Linked DNA regions of Homo sapiens: region 1 is linked to region 2. The links are contacts of gene promoters, found by promoter capture Hi-C in blood cells and fetal thymus (Javierre and others, 2016). All regions are on one chromosome and are shown on one strand. The core of a region is centred on a gene start or on the middle of the fragment in contact, and the rest is flanking DNA. Distances in the headings are between cores, read along the strand shown. Region 1 holds the start of WDR48 (WD repeat domain 48). Region 2 holds the start of XIRP1 (xin actin binding repeat containing 1).

Evidence for each region. Contacts are between HindIII fragments. The CHiCAGO score rates a contact against its expected background, and 5 or more counts as called.
Region 1: the fragment with the promoter of WDR48 here is called in contact with a fragment that was not itself captured in region 2 in 1 of 17 cell types (neutrophils); the score reaches 5.4 in neutrophils.

Annotation. Positions count from the first base shown.
Region 1 is chr3:39,050,086-39,057,303 of GRCh38, reverse strand. It overlaps WDR48 (WD repeat domain 48), which reads right to left and starts at 5,288. Exons shown (of 19, transcript NM_020839.4): 1 at 5,231-5,288. The coding sequence starts at 5,278. It overlaps SCN11A (sodium voltage-gated channel alpha subunit 11), which reads left to right and starts at 5,360. Exons shown (of 30, transcript NM_001349253.2): 1 at 5,360-5,443. RefSeq lists a silencer at 5,085-5,184 and enhancers at 5,225-5,414, 5,435-5,484, 5,495-5,584, 5,255-6,127. The HindIII fragment of the contact is 5,994 bases long and covers 768-6,761 here.
Region 2 is chr3:39,189,986-39,197,205 of GRCh38, reverse strand. XIRP1 (xin actin binding repeat containing 1) reads left to right here and starts at 4,611. Exons shown (of 2, transcript NM_194293.4): 1 at 4,611-4,760. RefSeq lists an enhancer at 4,851-5,840. The HindIII fragment of the contact is 1,708 bases long and covers 5,107-6,814 here.

The sequences.
Region 1 (7,218 bases), core at 4,039-6,538, 140 kb after region 2:
AACTTTTTGGCTCATCCATTTTAGACATTATCGATTTACTCATGCTACTGTAGATTAGGATGTAGTTCTGAAACTACCCTCAATATCTCCTCCCTCTACTCTTCTAATATAGATACATCCCTATTTTTAATTGAACAAATAATCCGTGCTATATTGTTGTGACTGTAAGGCTATCTACTAAGTACTATATTATGAATACATTTCCTTCCTCAAAGAGCTTTTTGTTTTCCCTAGAGTTTTAATTTTTCCTTCTTCAATGGTTTTCTCCACTTTAATTTCAATTTTAATTGCTGTACCACAGAACTCACCCCCACCCCTTTATTTTCTCAGAAGGCTTCCCCCTCCAAACCCTCCTTCTTCTCATTACAATCTAGGCTGACTGCCCTCTAGATCTGCTGGCACAGCTGTCACCTTTGGTGTTTTCCTTTACTGCTTTTCTGGGTTACAGCCATTGTTTCCTGAATTCTAATGCCTCCTTCTTTCTTTGTTCACTCCATAGTTTTGCTGAAATACATCCCCAATACCTTAAGAAAGTAATATAAGAAAAGGCACATGGGTTGGCAACTTAGTCCTTGCATGCCTGAAAAGGTCTTTCCTCCACATTTACACTTGATTTAGCAATTCTCTCAGCTCTTGAAAGCATTGCTGTAAGTTCCTCTAGCATCCAATGTTGCCACTGATTTCAATGCCATTCTGTTTCATACAGCTTTAAAGGGATCCTATTTTCATTCTTTCCTCCACTCCCTCGTCATCTCCTTCCCTAAGCTTTCAGGATTTTCTCTTTTTCCTTGGTGTTGTGACATTTCTTGTTTGTTTTTTCTATCATTAGTTTTTCTGTGCATTTAGAAAGCCCCTTCGATCTAGAAATTTGCGGCACTTAAGCTCCGGGAAATTTTCTTGTATCCATTATTAATCATCATCTCTGTTTTCTTTGCTCTTTCTTGAACTCAAATGAGTCAGATACTGGAACTTTCAAACTGATCCCTCATCTTTTATGCATTCTGTATTATCTATCTTTGTCCTTTCATTTATTTTTGTAACACTTCCTTTACTATTTTATAACTGGAGGTTTTTTCAAAGCAAATTATAGTATGATGGAAAAAAAATCAAAGCAATATCTTCAATAAGGAAATGGCTAGACAAATTATGGTACATCCATTCTATGTGGTCATTAAAGAACGAAAACTATATATGCTGATATGTTTCAAGACATGTCACCTTAAAAACTTGTTATCTGCATCCATTAAAGTACAGAGAAAAAATTTAAAATGTCTGGCTATAGAAAAATAGAGGAAAATGGATTTAATTCTTTCAACGAATATTAACTAGGCACCCACTTGTTGCCTGGCACTATTCTAAATGCTGAGGATACGGTAGTGAGCACAAAAGTCCTCTTGGCATTTAGCTGGGGAAAGAGCTTAACTAGAAGTGGCAGCAAGTTAAGCGAAGTATTTTTTTTCCCCAAGCACTGTGAAGCACTGAAGGAAGAGGCCATAACAGGAGGAAAAATGGAGGCACAGAGAGCCAATCAACAGACTCAGGTTGCTGGAAAATCATACCACCAAGGGACTGCTAAGGATGGAAAAGACTTGCTTTGATATCCTGGTTACCAGAGAAAATGCTACATCATGTATCTGAATTCACATATTTGATTATGTTTCTGACAGTCACAAATCCATCCCTCTTCCCTCGTATCTCTAGTTTTCCTAGAAGTTGAAGATGGTAGGACATGGACTCATTTAAAATTATGTCTACAATTAATATGCAGTATGTTTGGACCCCTCTCCACTGATTTTAAGTATCATTTTATTTTATTTTTGAGATGGAGTCTCGCTCTGTCACCCAGGCTGGAGTGCACTGGTACAATCTCGGCCCACTGCAACCTCCGCCTCCTGGGTTCAAGCGATTCCCCTGTCTCAGCCTCCCAAGTACCTGGGATTACAGGCATGCGCCACCATGCCGGCAATTTTTATATTTTTAGTAGAGACGGGATTTCGCCATGTTGGCCAGGCTGGTCTCGAACTCCTGACCTCAAGTGATCTGCCCACCTTGGCCTCCCAAAGTGCTGGGATTACAGGCATGAGCCACCACGCCTGGCCTCCACTGATTATTTAGCAATATTTTTAAGTCTCAAGGGTTTGTCTTGGCCTACAACTTGACAAGGAGCTCAGGGCTACTGTCTCGTGGTCTGAGACAGTCAGGAGACAAAGTATATTTACTCCAAGTACCCATGTATGCTTTTTCCAAGATGAGAAGTTTTCTTTTTGATGTATAAGAGCAAATAATGTGGTAAAAAGTTCAAAAATACAAAGTTGTGCATATTTCAAACTAAAAGATATCCCATGTCCTGTCTTATCTATAATCACACAATCTATTCCCAAAGGGATAATCACTGCTATTACCCTTCCTGACTTTTAAAATGCATATTTCCTTTGTGGAAATGGGAATATGCCATGTTGACTTGCTTTTTTGACTCTCTCTCTCTTTGAGGCCTCCCTGGAAGACGAGCAGATCCTAGCACCATATTTCCTGTAAAGCCTGCAGAACTATGAGCCAATTATGCCTCTTTTCTTTATAAATGAGCCAGTCTCAGGTATTTCTTTATAGCAATTCAAGAATGGCTTCACACAACACCCTTGCATAAGTAGGGACAGATACATGCATATGCAATTTTGTAGAATATATTTTTAGATAAGGAATTCTGGGCTAAAGGGAATGTTTATTTAAAAATTTGACAAAGCAAGACACAAAACAGTGAATACTATGGCTCCATTTATAGCAAAAAAATATGTTAAGTCAGGTACACAAACAGCAAGAGGTATAGAACAGCGGTTCTCAACCAGCGGCAATTTTGCCCTTGAGGGGACATTTGAAAATGTCTGGAGACATTTTTAGTTGTCACAACTGGGGAGATGCTACTACATCTAGTTGGTAGAAGCCAGGGATGATGCCAAAGAACCTGTGATGCATAGGACAGCTCCCTCCCTCAGACACAGCGAAGAATTATCCAGATGAAATTTCAAGAATGTTCAGGTTGATAAACTCTGGTCTAGGATTAAAACATGACATTGCCCGCAGTAGCTTTCTTGGAAGCATGGAGGGCAACTCTAATTTATGTTTTTGTTTGTTGGGATTTTTACAATGAACACGCATTAGTTTAAAAAACACCTCATAGACAATGATGGTTCAGATGAAATCAATCCCTGTGGCTTCTCAGGCTGCTTCTATACCTTAGGGACAAATTCCGAAAGTTCCCTGAATCTTCTCTTCAGCAGGTTAATCTAAGACAGCTCTTTCAAAAGTTCTTCATAGGAAATAATTTCAAGTCAGTTCACCAATCTGATTGCTACCTATGAAGAACAAGGTCCTAAGTGCTGAACACCAAACTCTAATTTTGTACTTTGACCAGTGAAAAGTGGAATTATCTATCACCTGCCTCATTCTACGTGCACTGGCTCACATTCAGCCTATTGGAACACTGTTTTTCCAAACCTGCTGCAGTTAATTTACATTTTCTCCATCCCATACTAGTACAATTGCCTTGTAAGTCTTTTTAAAATATATATACTTTATTGCATGCATTTTGGGAGTGGGCAGGCCTGGGAAGGAAGCAAGCAGGGAACACACTGCAGTAATAGGAGTTTTAAGTCTTAATGCAATAAACTGAAAGGCCTGATTAACTACCCTTACTCTCCTAAGATGTACACCACCATAGAGTCTATAATACAATCGGGTTACTTTTTGAGTTATATTTCAGTCCCAAGGAGACATTCTCACTACCTGCCTTGGATGCTGGTGATACTTAAATCCTATCACTAATGCACTGAAAAACACCTAATAGGGTGAGTTTAGACTTATTAATTTCACTCATTTCAACAAACATCCAGTGAGTGCTTAAGACACTGTACTGATCAGTGAGATCAATAAAACCAAGATGTGAACTAATCAGAAGACTTTATGGCCTACCACCTTCTGCTGGGATTACCTTACTGAAGGACCCCTTCATCTAACTACCTTTATCTGACACTTGATTTCAACCCGCAGAACTCCATATAATGCTGTGTTTTATAAAGAAAGCCTAGGTGTTAATTATTTCTACACCCTTTCAATCCCTTTTCCCCTTTGGGGGCCACCCTAAGTGCTAGGTAAATGTTTAATGAATAAATGCACCAAACTGCCACTACCACATACAATATACCTGCAGGCAAACACCTGTAAGAGGGCTTTTATTCCCTGCATCACTGAAAATATTAAGTGGCAATAACTATTTTTTAATATTATTATTATACTTTAAGTTCTAGGATATATGTGCACAACGTGCAGGTTTGTTACATAGGTATACGTGTGCCATGCTGGTTTGCTGTACCCATCAACTCGTCATTTACATTAGGTATTTCTCCTAATGCTATCCCTCCCCTAGCGCCCCCAGCCCCCGACAGGCCCCGGTGTGTGATGTTCCCCGAAGTGGCAGTAACTCTTAAGCGTAACCGCAAACAAAAGTGAATTCACAAAGGCATAAGGCACAAGACACACACGGTAAGATTAGACAACTCTTTACCACATGGACAATAAATTACACAAACAATAAAGACAGATTCAGCGATGCACACTTAAGATGAAGAAATGGTGAAGAGGAACTTAAATACCAAAACAATTAAAATTATAATTTCCCCACGCACATTCTTATGTCACTTAAACCTACCCAGGGGACAGCTCCCACATAAGAGAGGGCTGGGGGCTCCCAAGTGCGGAATCCTCAGCAGAAACCCCGCAGGGCCGTTGGCGCTCCGCCGCCTCGCCACGCCCCCGCACAAGCCGCTCACTCCTCCAACGCCCACCCCCCTGGGAAACCCCTGGAGGCCTCGGCTCCGACGCAGCGAGGGCAGAGCGCTTCGAAGAAAGACAGGGCAAGGGGGAGGCAAGTGGGCGGGGAACGAGCCTATCCCGACCCCGCAAGTCCACTCCTACAGAAGAGCGGCGACAAGCAATCCCGGGCTCAGAATGCCGCCCACGAGGGTCCCGGGCCTGGGCCCCAAGGGCCAAGCAAGCCGACCCCCGCCCCTTCCTCAAGCCGTTAGCGCCGCGGCCCCACCCCTCGTGGCCGGCCGCGCCCCGCCCCGTTCGCCCCATGCCGCTACCCCAGCTGGTCGTGGCGCCGGGCACCTTCTAGCTGGAGTGGGCCCGGAGCTGCCGGCCGCGTCCGGAAGACCGAGGAACCGGGCTTCCATACCTGCACTTTCCTCCGCCCTGCTGTGTTCTGCCGGTGATGGGCCGCCATCTTGCATGTTGACACTCCGACGTCACTTCCGGAGGTGGCTCAGAGCGGGAGGATGTCCTGCCCCTTTCCCTTTGGCCAAGGGTTAGTGGCGGGGCTGAAGGTAAACAGGCTGTTGTGTTTCCTCGGTGCTGTTAGTTGCTGTGTGGCCGGTAGCCATGTGATGAGGTAGATGCACCTAAAAACAAAACCACTGTGCAAGTATAATGCTGATGGGGAGAGAGCCACTTTTCAGGGCTGAGGGAGCAACACGAATTCACTTGTGTGGTCCTAGACCCTGGCTTGCGCTCTTTTCCGCGCCCTCCCCGAGAGGCCCAAGCAAAACGAAAGCACTGAAAGAATTAACAGTGCTAGACATGGCGCTGGACCATCTCCTGACCTTTCCTAGGCAGGCAGGAGAACCAAGTGAACCAAGTGATTTACTGTTAAGTACCTAAAAATGCGGAGAATTATGTCGTGGCCTCAAAGGGGGAGAGATAGAAGTCCTTGCAAAGGAGGTGGCCTCCATCTTCAGGGGGAGCAAAGAATCCGTTTAAATTAAAAGGATAAAAAGTGGGGCCATAAAAGAACGAGATCATGTCCTTTGTAGGGACATGATGGAGCTGGAGGCCCTTATCCTTAAGCAAACTAACAAAGGAACAGAAAACCAAATACCGCACGTTCTCACTTATAAGTGGGAGCTAAATGATGAGAACACATGGACACAAAAGAGGGGGACAACACACACTGGGGCCTTTCGGAGGGTGGAGGGTGGGAGGAGGGCGAGGATCAGGAAAAATAACTAATGGGTACTAGGCTTAATACCTGGGTGACAAAATAGCCTGTACAACAAACACCCGTGACACAAGTTTACCTATATAACAAACCTGCACTTGTACCCCTGAACTTAAAAGTTTAAAAAAAAAAAACAAGACAAAAAGATGTTATAGGAAGGCGAAAACGGTACACCAGCTAAAATTGTTCCCAGAGACAATTCTAGTTTAAATCATCTCTTATACTGGAACAGTTAGGTTTGACTTAAGGTGGTTTTCCTGACCACTAATTATAAGAGCTGAGGGTGATCAGACCCTCTCTAGTGAAAGTGAATCCTATAGAACTACACTGTGGGATATAGCATATGATGTATCTGCTAGTCATTTGTGGCTCTTGAGCACTTGAAATATAGCTAGTTCCAGTTGAGATATGTAATTGTAAACTACCCCCAAATTTCAAAGACTAGTTTGAAGAAAAGAATGTAAAATATCTCATTAATAATTTTTTGTATTGATTTCATGTTGAAATGATGTTTGGGGGTATATTAGGCTAAATAAAATTTATTAATTTTGTCATGGATATTAGAATATTTAAAATTACATATGTGGTCACAAATTTCTGTTGCATAGTGCTAGTATATAAGTAATGCTTAGAAAAGTTGTCTTGACAAATACTTCTTAAATTAATAAAGAAATGTGAATTAGATGAGTAAAAATTGTGATGGCAGAAAGCTTCTTAAGCAAAACTGGCAGTGATAACTTATAGGTAAATTACTGCATCATTACAGGCTTATTCATTCACTGATTCATGTATTCATTCATTTAACAAAATATTATTTAGCATATCATATATGCCAGGCACTATATTAGGTGTTGGGGAATCAGTGGTGAGTGCACATAGTCATAGAACTTAGAGTCCCAGGATGAGACAGGAATTAATACAGAGATAAGTACTATGAAGAAAGATGATTGTAAGACAGGAAGTATCTTGAGTCAAGAGTTAACTAGGCAAGGAGAGGGAACAGTCTGAGCAAAGGTCTTGTAGCAGGAGAGAGCATGGAACATTACAGGAACTGAGAGTCAAGGCTTAGAGTACAGAGAAGTGAAAGGAGTATGCAGAGGCCATACCCAGCAGGATCTTTTAGACCAATGGGAAGCTGTTGAAATACAGGTAGGGAAATAATATGTCTG
Region 2 (7,220 bases), core at 4,711-7,210:
TGGAATAACCTAAATACAGACATTAAGGTACAGAGAGCTGAAAGACTCTCAGAGGTCAAATAAATAGTAAGAGACAGACTGGCAATTTGATCTGAGGCCATCTGACACCAGCTCCCACTCTCTCAAACACCATGCTCTGTTCCCTCTCACACGGTAGCCATGATATTCCCATGGCAGGAGGGTGGAGACTCTCCCCTCAAATCTGCTGACCCCAGAGCAGAAAATCCCTTCTCTGGCTTCAGATGATTCTTCTCTGGTATCAAGAGGCTGAGCAGACCCTTCACCTGCAGGCTTGGAACAGAGCCAGCCTGGCTGCCCAAGCTGTCCTCCTGGCACCAGTGCCTGCTTCCCAGCCAGCAGGAAGCCAGGACTGCCAGCCAGTGCCAGGGTAGCCAGGAGTTGCACAGCTATTAAGTGTCACAGGTAGGATTCAGCCTCAAGCAGTCTGGCTCCTATCATTCTCGAATCCTGTCTCTCCTGAAACTTGAAGTGAGTCAACTGCCAGCTACTTACTCGGCTCCTTCATGATTTATGCGTGAATTTCTGCCCAAACCCAACTTTGATGGAGCCCTACTTGGAGGGAGGGGCTGGTAGGAGATGATGCCCTGGACCCTAAAAACCAGTAGGCTCCCAAAGAGAGGACTGCGATAGCTGGAAGGGAACCACCCTTCCCTCATACCCCCTCCCCGAGCACCTCTCTGCCTGTTGGCAAAGATCAGCTGTTCAACCTCAGGATATTTATTTATTTCCAGCCTCGTTCCCAAAATGATTTGAGAGAGCTTAAAGAAATAGATGCACAGTATCTCCACTGTTAAAAAAATGGAGCTCAGACCTGAAGCATCCCTGAGCAGGCAAAACAAGTTAGGTCTCGTAAGGGACCTTACCCTTGCTTGATTTGCAGACATGCAAAACTGGAGCTCTTCCTTTCTTCTTTCCTTCCTTCCTTCCTTCCTTTTTCTTTCTTTTTCCTTCCTTCCTTTCTTCCTTTTCCTTCCTTCCTTCCTTCTTTCCTTCCTTCTTTCTTTTTTCTTTTCTTTTCTTTTTTTTGAGACAGGATCTCACTTTGCCACCTAGCCTGGAATGCAGTGGCATAATCACGGCTCACTGCAGCCTCCACCTTTCTGGCTTAAGCGATTCTCCCACTTCAGCCTCCCAAGTAGCTGGGACAACAATTGCATGCCACCACACTCAGCTAATATTTTCTTTTATTTTTTGTAGAGATGAGGTCTCGCTATGTTGCCCAAGCTGGTCTCCAACTCCTGGGCTCAAGTGATCCTCCCACCTCAGCCTCCCAAAGTGCTCAGATTACAGGTGTGAGTCACCATGCCTGCCTTTGAGCTATTTCTTGTAAATGCCTATATTAAAGAAAAATAAAACTTAAGTGCAACTAATGAGAAGCAGCCAGCACAAATAATTATATAACCAGGGACTTTCCAATGGGATAGATCAAATAAGGCAACTGTATAACTGTAACCAATCAAATATTATATTTGCTTTACTTCTGTATCTGTCTTATAAAAACCTCCCGCTTGTGCTCCCTCAGTAGAGTTCCCAAGCCACTTCTGGTTTGGGACTGCCTGATTCAAAAATTGTTGTTTGCACAAATAAACTCTTAAAAAATTTATTGTGCCTCAGTTTACCTTCTTAATACCACTAAAGATACTCCAGTAAATAATGCCTAGTTTACTATCTTGACAGCCTCATAATTAATACCATGATGATGTGATATCATTAGATCATTACACATAGAGTGACTAGCTTGTCCTGGTTTTGTTAGAACTTTTCCAGTTTTAAAACTGAACATCCCTTGTCTTGCAAAACTCCTCAGAGACAGACAACAAAAAGTTGGTCACCCTCATTACACAGGATTTGGACCATAAAGTCTACTTGCTAGGTTAAAAATTTAGCTCTGAGTTTCCTAGCAGCCAAGTCAAAGAGAAACACCATATGTCATAAAAATTGTTTATTCTATTGACAATTCTCCTTCCAGAAAAATTTATTTTCTTATTTATTTTAACATCTATAACAGCACTATCCGTAGAACTTTCTGAAATAATGCAAACATTCTGCACTATTCAATATAATAGTTTCAGGCTGGGTGCGGTGGCTCATGCCTGTAATCCCAGCACTTTGGGAGGCGGAGGCAGGTGGATCACCTGAGGTCAGGAGTTTGAGACCAGCCTGGGCAACATGGTGAAACCCCATCTCTACTAAAAATACAAAAATTAGCTGGGCACGGTGGCACACACCTGTAATCCCAGCTACTCGGGTGGCTAAGGCAGTAGAATCGCTTGAACCCGGGAGGTGGAGGTTGCAGTGAGCCGAGATCGCGCCACTGCACTCCAGCCTGGGCGACAGAGCGAAACTCCGTCTCAAAAACAAACAAGCAAACAAAATCAATATAATAGTTGCTAGCCACTTGTCTCTATGGAGCACTTCAAATATGGCTAGTGTAGTGAAATAACTGAGTTTTTATTTTATTTCATTTTAATGTACTTAAATTTAAATAGCCTCATTTGGCTAGTGGCAACTCTATTGGACAGCACAGCTGTACTAGATACAAAGAAACCAAGTGCTCAGGAAGAGCCTCTTTCCTAATATTGAGGCCTGAGGAATTTCTCCCATGAGTTATCACAGGAGGTGAGTACAAAAGTGAGTTCCACCTAGGGGCTTTTCTCTTTTTATATTATATACAGTATAATAGCTGGCTCTTCTAAAGCATAGGCTATGTGCTAAGTACTCTCAGGCACTTTTTTTTTTTTTTGAGACAGAGTCTTGCTCTATCGCCCAGGCTGGAGTGCAGGGGTGCGATCCCAGCTCACTGCATCTTCTGCCTCCCAGATTCAATTTTCCTGCCTCAGCCTCCCAAGTAGTTGGGATTACAGGTGTGTGCCACCACACCCAGCTAATTTTTTATATTTTTAGTAGAGACAAGGTTTCACCATGTTGGTCAGGCTGGTCTCGAACTCCTGACCTCAAGTGATCCACCAGCCTCAGCCTGCCGAAATGTGCTGAGATTACAGGCGTGAGCCACCGTGCCTGGCTGGAGGCACTCTTTTCATATAATAATTCCTTCAATTCTCAAAACTATCCTAGAAAGTAAGAAATTTCAGTACCCACAGGGAGAAAGCTCCTCCCAGGAGAAATCCTGAGAAACCTAAGGCTGCCCTTTCCCTGAAACACTGGTACATCGGTCTCCCTGCCCTTCCTAGAGAGAGCCAGGAGCCTGGGGGACAGGCAGAGGGCTAGAAAAGAGCAGGGGAAGAGACAAGAGGGAGGGAGACCAGGAAGAGGGGGTTCCCAGATGTCCTTACCCCCATCCCAGCTGACGCTGCAGGACTGACATTGACTACATGGAAAAAGTGAGCAATGTCTGGCATCACCCCCTGGTACCAGAGGGCATTTGGGGAGTCAGAAGGAAGACCTCATGTGCCAGGCCACAGAATGCACCTGCATACCCACAGGCATGGAGCCTGGGCCAGGCCCACCTAGGACAAAACACCTCTTTCGAGTTTTTTGCAGATGGTCCCCTGACATCCTTCACCACACTGGTCTGACTGCCAGGATCTCTTGGGCCTCCTGGGCCCCTCACGCCCTGGTAAGCAAAGGAGGAGGCAGGTGTGACCCCCCCACCCCCGCCGCCACTCCATCTGTGACTGGGAAGCTGATGACTCCAGGGTCAGAAATAACCCCACGGTCAGCTCCCTGCATGCCGCCCTTCCCCTCCCCTCCATTCCCAGAAAGCCTGGGCCCTGAGTCAGAGGGAAGAGTCGAGAAGAAAGGACTCAGATAATCTGGAATGAAAACCATAGAGTCCTGCTGTGGAATTCATTCATTGGGAGGCCGAGGCAGGTGGATTACCTGAGGTCAGGAGTTCGAGACCAGCCTGGCCAACATGGTGAAACCCCATCTCTACTAAAAATACAAAAATTAACTGGGTGTAGTGGTGCAAAGGAGGAGCTGGGCCTGGCCAATCTCGGCCCAGTGAAGAGCTGGGCCTGGTCATTCAGATGTCTTCCCCCCAAATCCAGCTTCATCGGGGCTGTGTTGACCTGTGCTGTGGGGCACAGGGTGGAATGGATAAGAAAGAAGGAACTCTTTAGTGCAGAAGGGAATGGGGAAGAAAGAGAGCTGAGCATCACACTCAGAGGTATCCAGGCTCAGAACAGAGGAGGAGGTGCCCAGCCTGCCCTCAGGAGACCTCCAGTCTCCTGGCACGGTGGGTGGAGACACGTCAGGAAGAGTCAGAGGCAGGGCCAGAGTAGAATGATGGGGGCTCACAAGACGGGAGCAAGCTGTCCAAGGTGTCAGATGCCTCTTCTTAGTCACTCTCTCAAAATAGTCTGGGACACCCCCAACCTCACAACCCAGCTGAGTCACTGACCCCAATCCCCAGATCAGACTTTGGATGAATGAAGCTTCTCCCCCTCTGTTTCCCCTCCCCAGCCCAAAGGACATGTAACTGATTCCCCAGGATGGAAGAGTGACTTCCACAAGACCTAAAAATAACCGAACCACTTAATACTCGGAACATAGCCTCTCCCACCCGCCCCCACCACGGCCCACCCACTAGCCAGCAAGATAAAGGCAGCTGCTGGGGCTGGCAGGGGACAGAGACCTGGAGCCAGGGCAGCAAGAAGGTGTCTGTTGGAGCCAGCAGAACAGAACCAATTTGAACAAGAACCTCCAGAGGAACGACGAACCCTGAGACCACAGCTGCTACAGACCACAAACACCCCATCAGCCAAGAGAGACCCTTGGTGAGTAACCTACCTCTCCATCCTTCCACAGCAAGGCTGGCTTTCACAGCTGGGATCCCCTCTCCTTCTGAAATGGACGTATTAGGAATGGCTCTGAGTAGGGGAAGGAGATTGAGGGGCATGCATGGGAGGAGGTGAGTGGAAGTCTCAGACATAAAGAACCCACAAAGGAGGTAAAGACAGTGTGAGCCCCATGGGAGCTCTCAGAGTGGCTGCCACAGGCCTGAAGCTAGCAGAAAGGATAGGCTCCTGCCAGGCTGGCATGATCCAGAAAGGCCTGGAGTTGTGATTTTTAAAATACAGGTATGGAGTGCCTCAGGCTTCAGGGCTTCCTCCCAGGGAAGCTTCAGGCAGGCCCAGGATCTGGAGGAAGGAGGAACAGGAGAGAGGTGGGGGCAGGGGGCTGTAAGTAGGCCTGAGTGTGCATTGCTAGAACAAGCCCCATGCCTAGTTGTTGTGGATGACACTCTTGGCATATCTGGCCCAGGGATAGCTCCCAGGGGCTGGCCGGAGCCCAGCTCCCTACATATCATAGCCTAAAACCTGGGGTGGAATTCGGACTCTGCCCATGTCCATAGTCTTGCCCAGTGGGAAAGCCCCCAGGGCAGATTTGGGGGGCTCACGGGAGGGAGACCAGATCTGAATTTGCCCAGATGTAAAGACATATGGAGCCAGCTGGGCCAAGGAGGAGGTGACCCGAGGACAGCAGGGGGACCATCCTGAGAGGCTGGCCCAGCCCTAGGAGACCAAGCTCTAGGACAGTTCTTGGGGCTCACCCCACGTAAGTCTGGTCCCAGTTATGAATTCTGTCCTGACTCTACACTTGTCCCAGCAGTCTCAAGCCAGGCAAAGATGGTGGTGGGAAGGCCAGGAGTCAGGAGACATGCTTCAGGCTTTGCTACTGCCTTGCTGAGCCTCCTTGGACAGCTCCTTTCCCCTCTTTGGGCCTCTGTTTCCCTATTTGAACAATAAGGGGTTTAGATTGAGTGACCTCTGAGGGTCCTTAGGCCTGACATCCCTGGACTCCATGATAATAACTGTCTGTGGCCTTAGCAGAGATTCTGGAAATTCCTGGGGGCGGGGGTGGGGTGAAGCTGATGGTGTGCACACACCATCTGCTCAGGCCACCCTGGTGGTGACAGGATGGAGTAGAGGTGGAGACAGGCTCAGGTTTGCCTTGGGCAGGGGATCCTCATTGGAGCTCAGAAATGAAAGAAAACCACCCAGAGCTTTGATGAGACTCAGGCTGCAGGTTTCAGAGCTCACATTCCCCAAAGGTTCTGATGTCTTTGGTGGACATGCCAGGGTGGGCATGGGGTCAGCAGGTCTCAGTTTCCTCTCTCCTCCTTCTGAGGTAGCCATAGGGAGGAAGTCCTGCCCCACTTACTTCCAGTACCTCCCCCCAGTGCAGACTCCTTTGGCCAGGGAAGGTGTCCAGGTTCTAGCACCTGGCTGGCCTGCAGCCCAGGGGCCTGACACCAGCCCAGGAGGCAGGATAGGGGAGCCCAGGCTAATGAAGGAGATGAGGTGAGCCAAGGGTACTGAGGGTCCCCACTGGCTGGGCCTCAGCCTCCCTCTGAGCCCAGGGCTGCTGTTCTGAGGCCAGGACCTCAGCTATATTTAGCACCCTGTGTGGTGCAGAGCAGTGGGTCAGGGGCAGCAGGAGGGGGCACGTGCTTCCCATTCTTTCCCTACTGGCCTCTGGGGACTGTTAGTACACCTGTCACAAGAGAGATAAGACATACATGGACAGAGACCAGAGAAGGGCTTGAGGGGTGGTAGGTCATTGAGGGGCGGGGGTGTAGCCGGGGAGAGGCTGAGCTGGGGTGGCCATGAGGCCTGCAGGGGTAGGGCTTAGCCTGAAGCCCCCCTGAGTCCGAGCCCCTGAAGCTGTGCTTGCTTGCTTAGAGAGCGGTATCCAGGAGCAAGAGGCAGGGCTGTCTCTGCAGAAAGGACCCTGATCCCATGGTCCTCTCCCTGGTTGTTGTCACCCTCATATCCTCCCAGGGGTGCCTGCTGGGGAATAGACGGGTTCTATGGCCAATAAGAAAGCTTTACACCTGCTACCCTCTTATTTCTTGGGGCCATGCCCTAAATGGAGTCTAGGGACCCCAAGCCAGCACGGCCTTCCATTTATTCACCAAGATCTGACTCTGGGCCTAAGTTCCCTCATCTTTATTTATAAATGATTGTGCTAAAAGACCTTTGAGATCCCCCTAGCTCAGACATTCTCAGTCTTCGAGTATAATGCAGAAAACCCTGACCAGATATTCAGAATTTGGATCTGGCCTAAGCACGAGATATCTGATGAGCAGCTTCCCAGCCCTGATTCTCAACTGCTTCCGCTCTAGCATGGGCTGTTGGCCTCTGCTTGCCTCCTTGGGCCTGGGAAAGGTTGGAGTGCGTTGACAGCCAAGAGGTAAAAGTTAGGCAGCGTTCCAGGTCAACATGGCAAGTCTG